Linked DNA regions of Homo sapiens: regions 2 and 3 are each linked to region 1. The links are contacts of gene promoters, found by promoter capture Hi-C in blood cells and fetal thymus (Javierre and others, 2016). All regions are on one chromosome and are shown on one strand. Each heading gives the region's core, a stretch centred on a gene start or on the middle of the fragment in contact. The rest is flanking DNA. Distances are from core to core; before and after follow the strand shown. Region 1 holds the start of NEXMIF (neurite extension and migration factor). Region 2 overlaps ABCB7 (ATP binding cassette subfamily B member 7). Region 3 overlaps ABCB7 (ATP binding cassette subfamily B member 7).

Region 1 (3,013 bases), core at 290-2,789:
CACTTATTCCAAAATGCAACCAGAAGCTTGATAAAAATCAAGAGTGCTGTTGTCGAAATGGGGATGCCAATTTTTTTTTAACTTCGAAAAAGACAGAAAACCTTGCGCGGGTGATTCGGTCCCTCACGAATCAGACAGACAGAAGCAGTCATGCTGAAATCGCTGAATTCCTCAGCGGAACGGCGCCAACTCAGCAGCGCGGTTTCCACACTTTCCCGGAGCGGGACTCCGCTCCCCGCGCCGGCTCACGGCCTTCCCGCCCTACAGGGTGTACAAGACGCGAGCCGACGTGTGCTGCGGGGCGCGGCAGAGAGAAGCGCCAGAAGCCACACAGAAAAGCGTCAATTCGACCGCCACCGAGAGCGCGAAGGGGCCACAAGCCAATTTCCGCAAAGGAGATGAGCTGGGCGAGGCTCGGTCTGGCCTCCAACTTAAACCTGTCCGCAGCCTCGGCCGAGTGGCGCGTGTCCTGGGGGCGCTCTGTGGTCGCCACGGCCGCCCGGCTTCGCACCTTTGCGGCTTTGGTCCGAGCGCCCGGCCTCGGCCGCCGCGTGGGTTTTCCCGCTCTCGCCGAAGCGTGCCATGCCCATGCCCCATTCCCTGGCCAGGCTCTACCCTGCACCAGTCCGAAAGGAGGCGGCACTCTGCCGAGCTGCGTGCGTGTAAGCGCGGCGGCTCCGGTCCGCTCGCTTCCCCTCCCCCCGCAACCCCCTTCCTACGGCGCAAGCACAGAGGCCTTTCCTAGATTGCAGTGCCTGTCAGGGCGAGCCGGGATCTCTCGCCCTAGCGGCCTCGCTCCCTCATACACAGACACACACATTCGCATACAGACGTCCTCCGTTCCGTTTTCCCTTCCTTCTCGTCTAGCTCGACTTACCCCAGTTCATTCCACCCCCTGCGGCCGCCACCCCGAGCCAGCCGGGGAGCCGGCGAGAAGGCCAGGAAGCTGTATGGCAGCGCTCCTACTCACCTCACAGGCCGACTCCCGAGGCGCACGTCGCTGGCGGGCTCAGGCAGCAGGCGCTGTAGCTAGCGCGGTCGCAGTCAAGGCTGGGCTGTCGCCGTCGCCGCAGCTGTTCGAGCTGCCTTAGCCGCCACCGCCGCTGCTACTGCTGCCGCCGCCGCCGCCGCCTCTGCCTCAGCTCCATACGCTGGGCCCGCCAGGTGGACGCGCCTCTCTCCTCGCTCGCTCCCTCAGGCTCCGCCGCCGCCGCGCTAGATGGAGTCAGAGCTGTCGGGCTCTGGCCCTGAAACTCAGAGCCTCCGCGGCTGCCCGGCTGCTCCAAGGGTCCGTGCTTCGCTTACACTGTCGCTCGCCCCGGCTGGAGCTACCTAGCGAGCGGGCTGCGCGCTCGGCGCCTGGAGCCCGCTCTGTGCGGTGGCTGCGGCCGTCCGCGAGAGGGAGAGAGGAGGGCGGCTGCTACTGTCGCTATAGCTGTTAAAGCTATTGCTAAATGCTGCTACTGCCGCTAATGCTACTGCTGTGGCGGCGGTGGTGGCGGCGGCGGCTGCTGCTGCTGCTGCTGATGCTACTGGTTTTCCTTCCCAGGTTCTTCCCCTGCCTCGTCCCCCCTCCTCCCCCTTCCTCCTCCTCCTCCTACTCCTCCTCCTCCTTCTCTTCCTCCTCCCTCTTCTCCTCCCTCTGCCGCTTTTCTCAGAGCCTCTGCAGGCACTGCCTGGTCCCCTCTTCTCCCGGAGCTGTCTCTGCCCATTCAGAAAGGTGCCCAGAGTGGGGCCGCCTCTGCTGCCACCATCGCTGTTGCCCCTGCCATTGTTTCCTCCAACACGGCTGTTCTTGCTGGACGCCTTCCCCCCTCTACCCTTCTTCCCCACCACAGCTCTCCCTTTCCCTCCCGCTCTCCTTACCCTCTCTATGGTCCCTTCCTTATGTGCCCCCCCAACTCTGTCCGTCTGTCCTTCCCTCCCCTCGGGCGCCCGGGAGCGCGCACTGCGCGGCCACCTGTCATAAAGGGCGCGCACCCCCCTTCCCCATTCCCACCCCGCCCCCCACTCGCGTTCCTGCTGCCCTTCCAGTCCACTACGCCAGTGGTGCGTTCTTCCCCTGGCAGACACGCAACCGGACACCACTCTCCCATGCCTTTTAGGGCAGTTGTGTGTGCGGAGAGGGGCACTCTGAAGTTTGGGGAAGAATATTTGAATGGTTTCATCCACCAAGCATCTAACCATTCAACCTTTACCTACTCTTAACTTAAGGGCCTGGGCCCCCAGGAAGGTGGGTCCTTTTTGAAGGGTTGGATGAAGGCAGACAATTGGGGAGTGACGTTTGGGGAATAAAGGAAAGAAGGGAAGCTGAATATGGCCAGGAAGGAAAACAGATCTGCCTGATGGCTGTCATTGAAAAATCTCTTAGGTGGTCATTTTCCTTCAGACGTCCTGGGAACTCAACAGGAAACAGCAAAACGATTGGAGAGCAACTCAGGAGGGACCATTTAGTACTTCTGGAGTCCTGGGTGCAAGGTTGAGGCCTGAGCCTCGGGAGATTTGTCACCACTAGGAGCCAAGGCAAGAGATGAAAAGGTTGGTACTAGAACAGAAGGGGTAAAAGTAGCTACTTTGTGTGCACTTGCTCCAACATCATTGCCAAAGCACAGCTTCTCCAGTCAGGCAGGGCCTCATTTCAGATTTCTTTGCTGCCACAGCTACAGCGTCATTTTGCTACGAGGGCTCAGGCTTTGAGATCTGATGTGTGCAACTTCTCACCATCACCTGTCACACAATCCCTCCCCAGAAACAGTGCAGAGGCGGGGGTATATTTTCTTTTCCCTGGCAAAGTACAGGAGATAAATGTTCCAGATATCCCATTGACAATAAGGTCTGGGTCACTTTACCAAGTTTGAGGCGCTCTACCATGGGTCTTTCATTCCTGGACAATAAACTGTCTGTATGGCTTTTACAACTCCCCATCTCTGTGCCTTTGTTTCTGTCATCCCACTTGCTTGAAACACTCTTGTTATTTCTCCCTCTCATTTTATATCTATGAAACTCATCCATA
Region 2 (3,013 bases), core at 363-2,862, 220 kb after region 1:
CAGCCAACAAGCACACAAAAAAAAAAATGCTCAACATCACTAATCATTAGAGAAATGCAAATCAAAATCACAACAAAACACCACCTAACACCAGTCAGAATGGCTAGTATTAAAAAGTCAAAAAATAACAGATGCTGGTGAGGTTATGAAGAAAAAGGAACACTTATATGCACTGTTGGTGGGAGTGTAAATTAGTTCAACTACTGTGGAGAGCAGTGTGGCAATTCCTCAAAGAATGAAAAACAGAATTACCATTTGACCCAGCAATCCTATTACTGGGTATGTACCCCAAGGAATATAAATCATTCTATTATAAAGACACATGCATGCGTATGTTCATTGCAGTACCATTCACAATAGCAAACACATGGAATCAACCTAAATGCCTATCAATGACAGACTAGATAAAGAAAATGTGGTACAAATATATCATGGAATACTATGCAGCCATAAAAAAGAACAAAATCACGTCCTTTGCAGTGACATGGCTGGAGCTGGAGGCCATTATCCTTAGCAAATTAACACAGGAACAGAAAACTAAGTACTACATGTTCTCACTTACAAGTAGGAGCTAAATGATGAGAACACATAGACACATACAAGGAAACAACACACACTGGGGCCTATCAGAGGGTGGAAGGTGGAAGAAGGGAGAGGATCAGAAAAAATAACTAATGGCTACTAGGCTTAATACCTGGGTGATAAAATAATTTGTACAACAAACCTCCATGACATAAGTTTACCTATGTAACAAACCTGCACATGTACTCCTGAACTTAAAATAAAAGTTACAAGGCCAGGCGTGGTGGCTCAGGCCTGTAATCCCAGCACTTTGGAAGGCCGAGGTGGGCGGATCACCTGAGGTCAGGAGTTCGAGACTAGCCTGGCCAACATGGCGAAACCCTATCTCTACTAAAAATACAAAAATTAGCCAGGTGTGGTGGTGTGCGCCTGTAATCCCAGCTACTTGGGAGGCTGAGGCAGGAGAATCGCTTGAACCTGGGAGGCAGAGGTGGCAGTGAGCCAAGATTGTGCCACTGCATTCCAACCTGGGTGACAGAGCACAACTCCATCGCAAAAAAATAAAAAATAAAAAATAAACAAATAAAATAAAAGTTACAGAGATGATAAAATGCATTACTACTAGCAGACAAAACAAATTGGACTTCAAATAAATGAACATAATATAACCTACTCAAAAAGGTCAGTTCATCAATTGAAAAGCTTAAACATGAAATATTTTTCTCATTGTAAAAACAAGTACAGTATATCAAACTATGTCTGTGTATCCATAATAGCAAATTAAATTTTTTTTGTTTGTTTTTTAGCATCCCAAACCCCCCCCCAACCCCCGAGGTAACCACTTTTACCAGACTGGAGTATATCTTTCCAATTTTCTATGTATTTGCATATACATACACACACATACAAACACATACACACATTGTTATGGTCTGAACTGTGTACTCCCCACCCCCACAAATTTATATGTTGAAGTCCTAACCTCTAATACTTCAGAATGTGACTATATTTGGAAACAGGGCCCTTAAAGAGGTAATTAAAGTTCAATGAGGTCATTAAGGTGGGCCTTAATCCAATATGACCAGTATACTTCTAAGAAGAGGATATCAGGACACAGACACAAACAGTGGAAAAGACAGTGTGAAGACAGAGGTATAAGATGGCCATCTACATGCCAAGGAGAGAGACCTCAGAAGAAATCAACTCTACTGACACCTTCATCTTGGACTTCATGGGTTCCAGAACTGTGAGAAAATACATTTCTGTTGTATAAGCCACCCAATCTGTGGTGTTATGGCAAACGTAGCAGGCAAGCACACATGTACATGCACAGTTATTAAGTCACTACAGTCAGAGTAGTTGAAGAAAGAGTTCATACTTAGCAAACATTCATGCACTCAAAAATATGAATATATTACAATATTATAGTATAAGTTACTCAAGATCAGTAAAAACAATTTTATAAGTAAACCAAAATCGAAGCTTCACCTTGTCTTTTTCTAATATGCTTTGAAAAGCAGAAGTTTAAAAGTTGCTCTCCCAAAACATCAGCACCTAAGGAACTATACCCTTAGGATGCGGTTTCCCTACTTTAATATCCATCCCTCTCTAGATATTGTAAAGAAAACTTAATCAGAGGACTAATGAACATCCCAAAATACAGTGTGCAGTTAAAATTTCTACAAACAGCAAATTTTTATATCTTATTCCTCAAAGAATGTTATCCTGTAAGTCACTTTATCTTAGCAAATGATGCTCACAAATAAAGTAACTCAAAAATTTTAGGATAAAAAGTAAGTGTGCTTTGGTTATTGAACTAAAACTGACAACAATCAGTGATGCTACTCCACCACGGTACCATATGCCTAATGACAGAAATGCAACGGACAAACTTATGAGGTTGCCCTGAAGAAAGTTAGCTTTCAATTCCAAATGTATAGCAGTGGAGCAAATATTATTAATTATTATGTTAGATTTTTGCTTTGGTTTGGTTATAGAGTTTAATCATTCATTTTACATATATTTTCTGATTACCTATTACATGTAACATACCGTGCCTAGCTCTGTGGAAGATAAAAACAAAAAGATGATTGGAATATATTAGCATTTTAGGCACATAAAATCTTATCTCCTCCACAAGATACATAACTACTTGTAGGAAAAAGTGTTGTAGGAGTTCAGAGGAGGGAGAAATCAAAGTCTTATTAGCTTATAAGGAATGGTTTCAGGGAACGGACTGACCTTTGAACTAACATTTGAAAAATAGGCACCAGTTAGAGAGAGGGCATTTCAGACATAGGGTGTGGCATAAAAAAAAGAACAGACACAAAAAAGCACATGGTCCAAGGAACAGGGAACAATATAGGGTGACTGGAGGGACAGGGTATTTGTAGAGAAACAGTTTACAATATGGCTAGCAATCTAGTTAGGTGGAAATTTTTAAGGCTAAGATATAAAGCCCACTGAAGTTTATGCAGGGAAGTGATGGGAT
Region 3 (3,013 bases), core at 149-2,648, 170 kb after region 1:
AATATCTCTATCTGGGTGTTCTGCTAGTACCTAAAACTTAACATGTCCAAAACCAAGATCTTCATTTTCCCCAAACAAGACCTTCTGATTATACCCACTTTTGTTAAAGGCATTCTTATTCTCTCATCCTGGAATCCTACTTTTTTTTTTTTTAACTTCTAACAGTTGACCCATTGCTAAGTATTGTTGACTCTATCTCCCCTACTGCACAGTATCTCTTGTATTTTCCTCCATGTTGCAATTTCTACTACTATTTCAGTACAAATTGCTATTACTTCTTATCTAGACTATCATATGAGCCTTATAACTGGTCAGTAAACATTTGCTGAATGAATGTGTGAAATAAATGGTATCCCTACTTTAGGTCTATCACCACTTGAATTCATCTTTTACACATGGCCAGATTAATTTCCTAAAACACAGTTCTAACCTTATTACTCATCTATTCAAAATACAGGTTCCCACTTCCCACATAATTAAATACATTTTTCTGTCTCACAGTCACAATATTTCACATTTACGAGCTCTAATCTGTCTTTCCAAGCTTATTTCCGAATTCTCTGAAACATCTTCCCCTCGCTGGAACCAGGATAGACTACTCACTTCTGTACACATACTATGCTCTCTCACAACTAGGCCATTTTTCATGTTATTCCTACACCTGTAATAATCCTACTCATCAATCAAGGTCTATCTCAGATGTCATCTCCTCTGTGAAACCTTTCCTAACTCCCCATGATGGTGGTTCCTAACTTTCTTCTGAAACCCCACAACACCCGACTGGCACTTCTTTAAATCATTTATGACCTACCTTTTATTAGGGCAATAAAATAAAGCTTGCCTTATCCCATATGGTTTGAGGAAAGAAATTTGCTTTGTTCATATCTGAACACTCTGCAATGCCAAGAACAGTAGTGTGTATAAGTTCTCAATTAATATTTTTAGGGTAGGGAAAAGAATAAGCAAATAAAGGAGAGTATACATAATATAGGGAAAAAATAAGTGGTAAGAACTGGGTTCTAAAATAAAATCTTAATCCTTATATATAAGAGTGGTAGCCAAATCATAGCCAAACCTCCTTTATGCTCATTTTAAGCAAACACTTTTTACCATTATTTTTGGAAATCTAAATTTATTTATTTTTAATACTTGTATTTTACTACCTGCCAGGCACTGTTATAAGTCCTTTGTATGTTAACTTATTTAATCTTTATAGCAACCCTATTTTACAAATGGACAAACTGAGGCACACAGACTAAACAACTTGCTTAAGGTTACAAGGTGGCAAAGCCCAAGCAGTCTGATTTCAGAGACTTCATCATGACAATATAGTATACCTACAAACGTGTACTTCCCTGACTTTAAAATCTGAGTAAATTGGGGGCTGGGTGCGGTGGCTCATGCCTGTAATCCCAGCACTTTGGGAGGTCGAGGCGGGTGGATCACCTGGGGTCAGGAGTTAGAGACCAGCCTGGTCAACATGGTGAAACCCCATCTCTACTAAAAATACAAAAATTAGCTGGGCATGGTGGCGCACGCCTATAATCCCAGCTACTCGGGAGGCTGAGGCAGGAGAATTGCTTGAACCCGGGAGGCAGAGATTGCAGTGAGCCAAGATTGTGCCACTGTACTCCAGTCTGGGCAACAGAGTGAGACTCTGTATCAAAAAAAAAAAAAAGAAAAAAAAATCTGAGTAAATTTGAAACAAGGTTTTTATTTTCTTGAAAACTCGAGGTCATCATTATAACTTTGCCTTATATAGTACAATGACAAACTGAGAAGGCTGCTGAAATGCAGAGGGCTCCTATACTGAACGTACCAAAACAGTCAGGTTTTGTGGCTTTTGTTTTGTTTTGTTTTTTTAGCTTTTCTCTTGATATTAAGCTGTTGCTTATTACTTATGGCTATCAGTGTTCCTAAAATGGCTTCATCCTCTTTTCAATTTACTGGGATCTGGGAACCAAGCTTACCAAAAATATGTATTATTTCGGAGCCAAAGAGGCTCCGAAAAGCTTCTTTTACAAAGGTGCTTATGCTTTGTTACAATCAATGCTCCTATATCTCACAACGGTTTCAAGGAGTGAATTCCACTAATTCTGTGAGAAGTCTGATCCAGAGATAAACAGGACATTACCATATAATTTCTAATGACTGCATAAAATAATTATGTAAACTAAATGAGGGTCCTAAAAGTTGGTCATGCTACCCCAAAAGTGATTTACACCAGGCCCAGGATTCATAACTAGAAAATGTAGTATTTCTTAGTTAGAGCAACCAAACAATGCATAATTTCTTACCTTTGCACCACCCAAAAATCCCAGCGAAATGGCAACTCTAGCTCGTAGATCTGGCCTGTCTTTGGGCCACACATAAGAAAGCATTGCTTTTATGATTTTCCGAGTATCAACATCTTTTAACTATTGAAAGAGAGAAAACAAAGCAGTGAATAACATGTCATTTCAAACATAACCATAATTCAATAACGTAGAATTTATATATTTGAGAAATACATGAAAACATTACAAATATAACTTTTATTCTGAATCTAAGGCTAATATCTTTCAAAATCAAAATATTTTAGAGAAAAATTATTTCAATTACTTTAAAAAAGTTATTCATTTCTCTTAAATGTCTTACTTTCAATTTTAGCCACTCTCATATTGTTAAAAAAGTAATTTAGTGGTCATGAAGGGACATGTACTATACATTTATTTATTAAGCTACCAAAACACTACAGAAAATTCAAAAAAAATTTCCATATTTCCATTTTTGTAGTAGAAAATTTATATACATTTTGGCTATTTGTCAGTTTTTTATTTAAAACACTTTGGAGTCCCAAGTCTAAACTCATGGTAGAGCTGAGTTGCAATACTCCTTTTAGGAAAGCAGAGGGCTTGGTATTGACTATATCAAACAAAGTTGAGTTACTGAAAATTTCCTCACAAATGCAATTTTCCAATAATACTTAATCTGATCTAAATCCATCTCACATTTTTTTCTTTGTACCATGTTC

What was found. The method cuts DNA at HindIII sites, captures the fragments that hold promoters and counts their contacts. A CHiCAGO score of 5 or more calls a contact.
Region 2: a contact is called between a fragment that was not itself captured here and the fragment with the promoter of NEXMIF in region 1, in 1 of 17 cell types (naive CD4 T cells). The highest score is 5.7, in naive CD4 T cells.
Region 3: a fragment that was not itself captured here is called in contact with the fragment with the promoter of NEXMIF in region 1 in 1 of 17 cell types (naive CD4 T cells); the score reaches 5.6 in naive CD4 T cells.

The regions. Positions count from the first base shown.
Region 1 is chrX:74,923,913-74,926,925 of GRCh38, forward strand. NEXMIF (neurite extension and migration factor) reads right to left here and starts at 1,540. Exons shown (of 4, transcript NM_001008537.3): 1 at 971-1,540. RefSeq lists a silencer at 419-578. The HindIII fragment of the contact is 8,655 bases long and covers 25-3,013 here.
Region 2 is chrX:75,147,040-75,150,052 of GRCh38, forward strand. All of the region lies in intron 1 of ABCB7 (ATP binding cassette subfamily B member 7), which reads right to left. Among named protein-coding and RNA genes, the nearest start is that of ABCB7, 7.7 kb to the right of the region's middle. The HindIII fragment of the contact is 780 bases long and covers 1,223-2,002 here.
Region 3 is chrX:75,096,645-75,099,657 of GRCh38, forward strand. ABCB7 (ATP binding cassette subfamily B member 7) reads right to left here. Exons shown (of 16, transcript NM_001271696.3): 4 at 2,298-2,417. Among named protein-coding and RNA genes, the nearest start is that of ABCB7, 58 kb to the right of the region's middle. The HindIII fragment of the contact is 1,129 bases long and covers 835-1,963 here.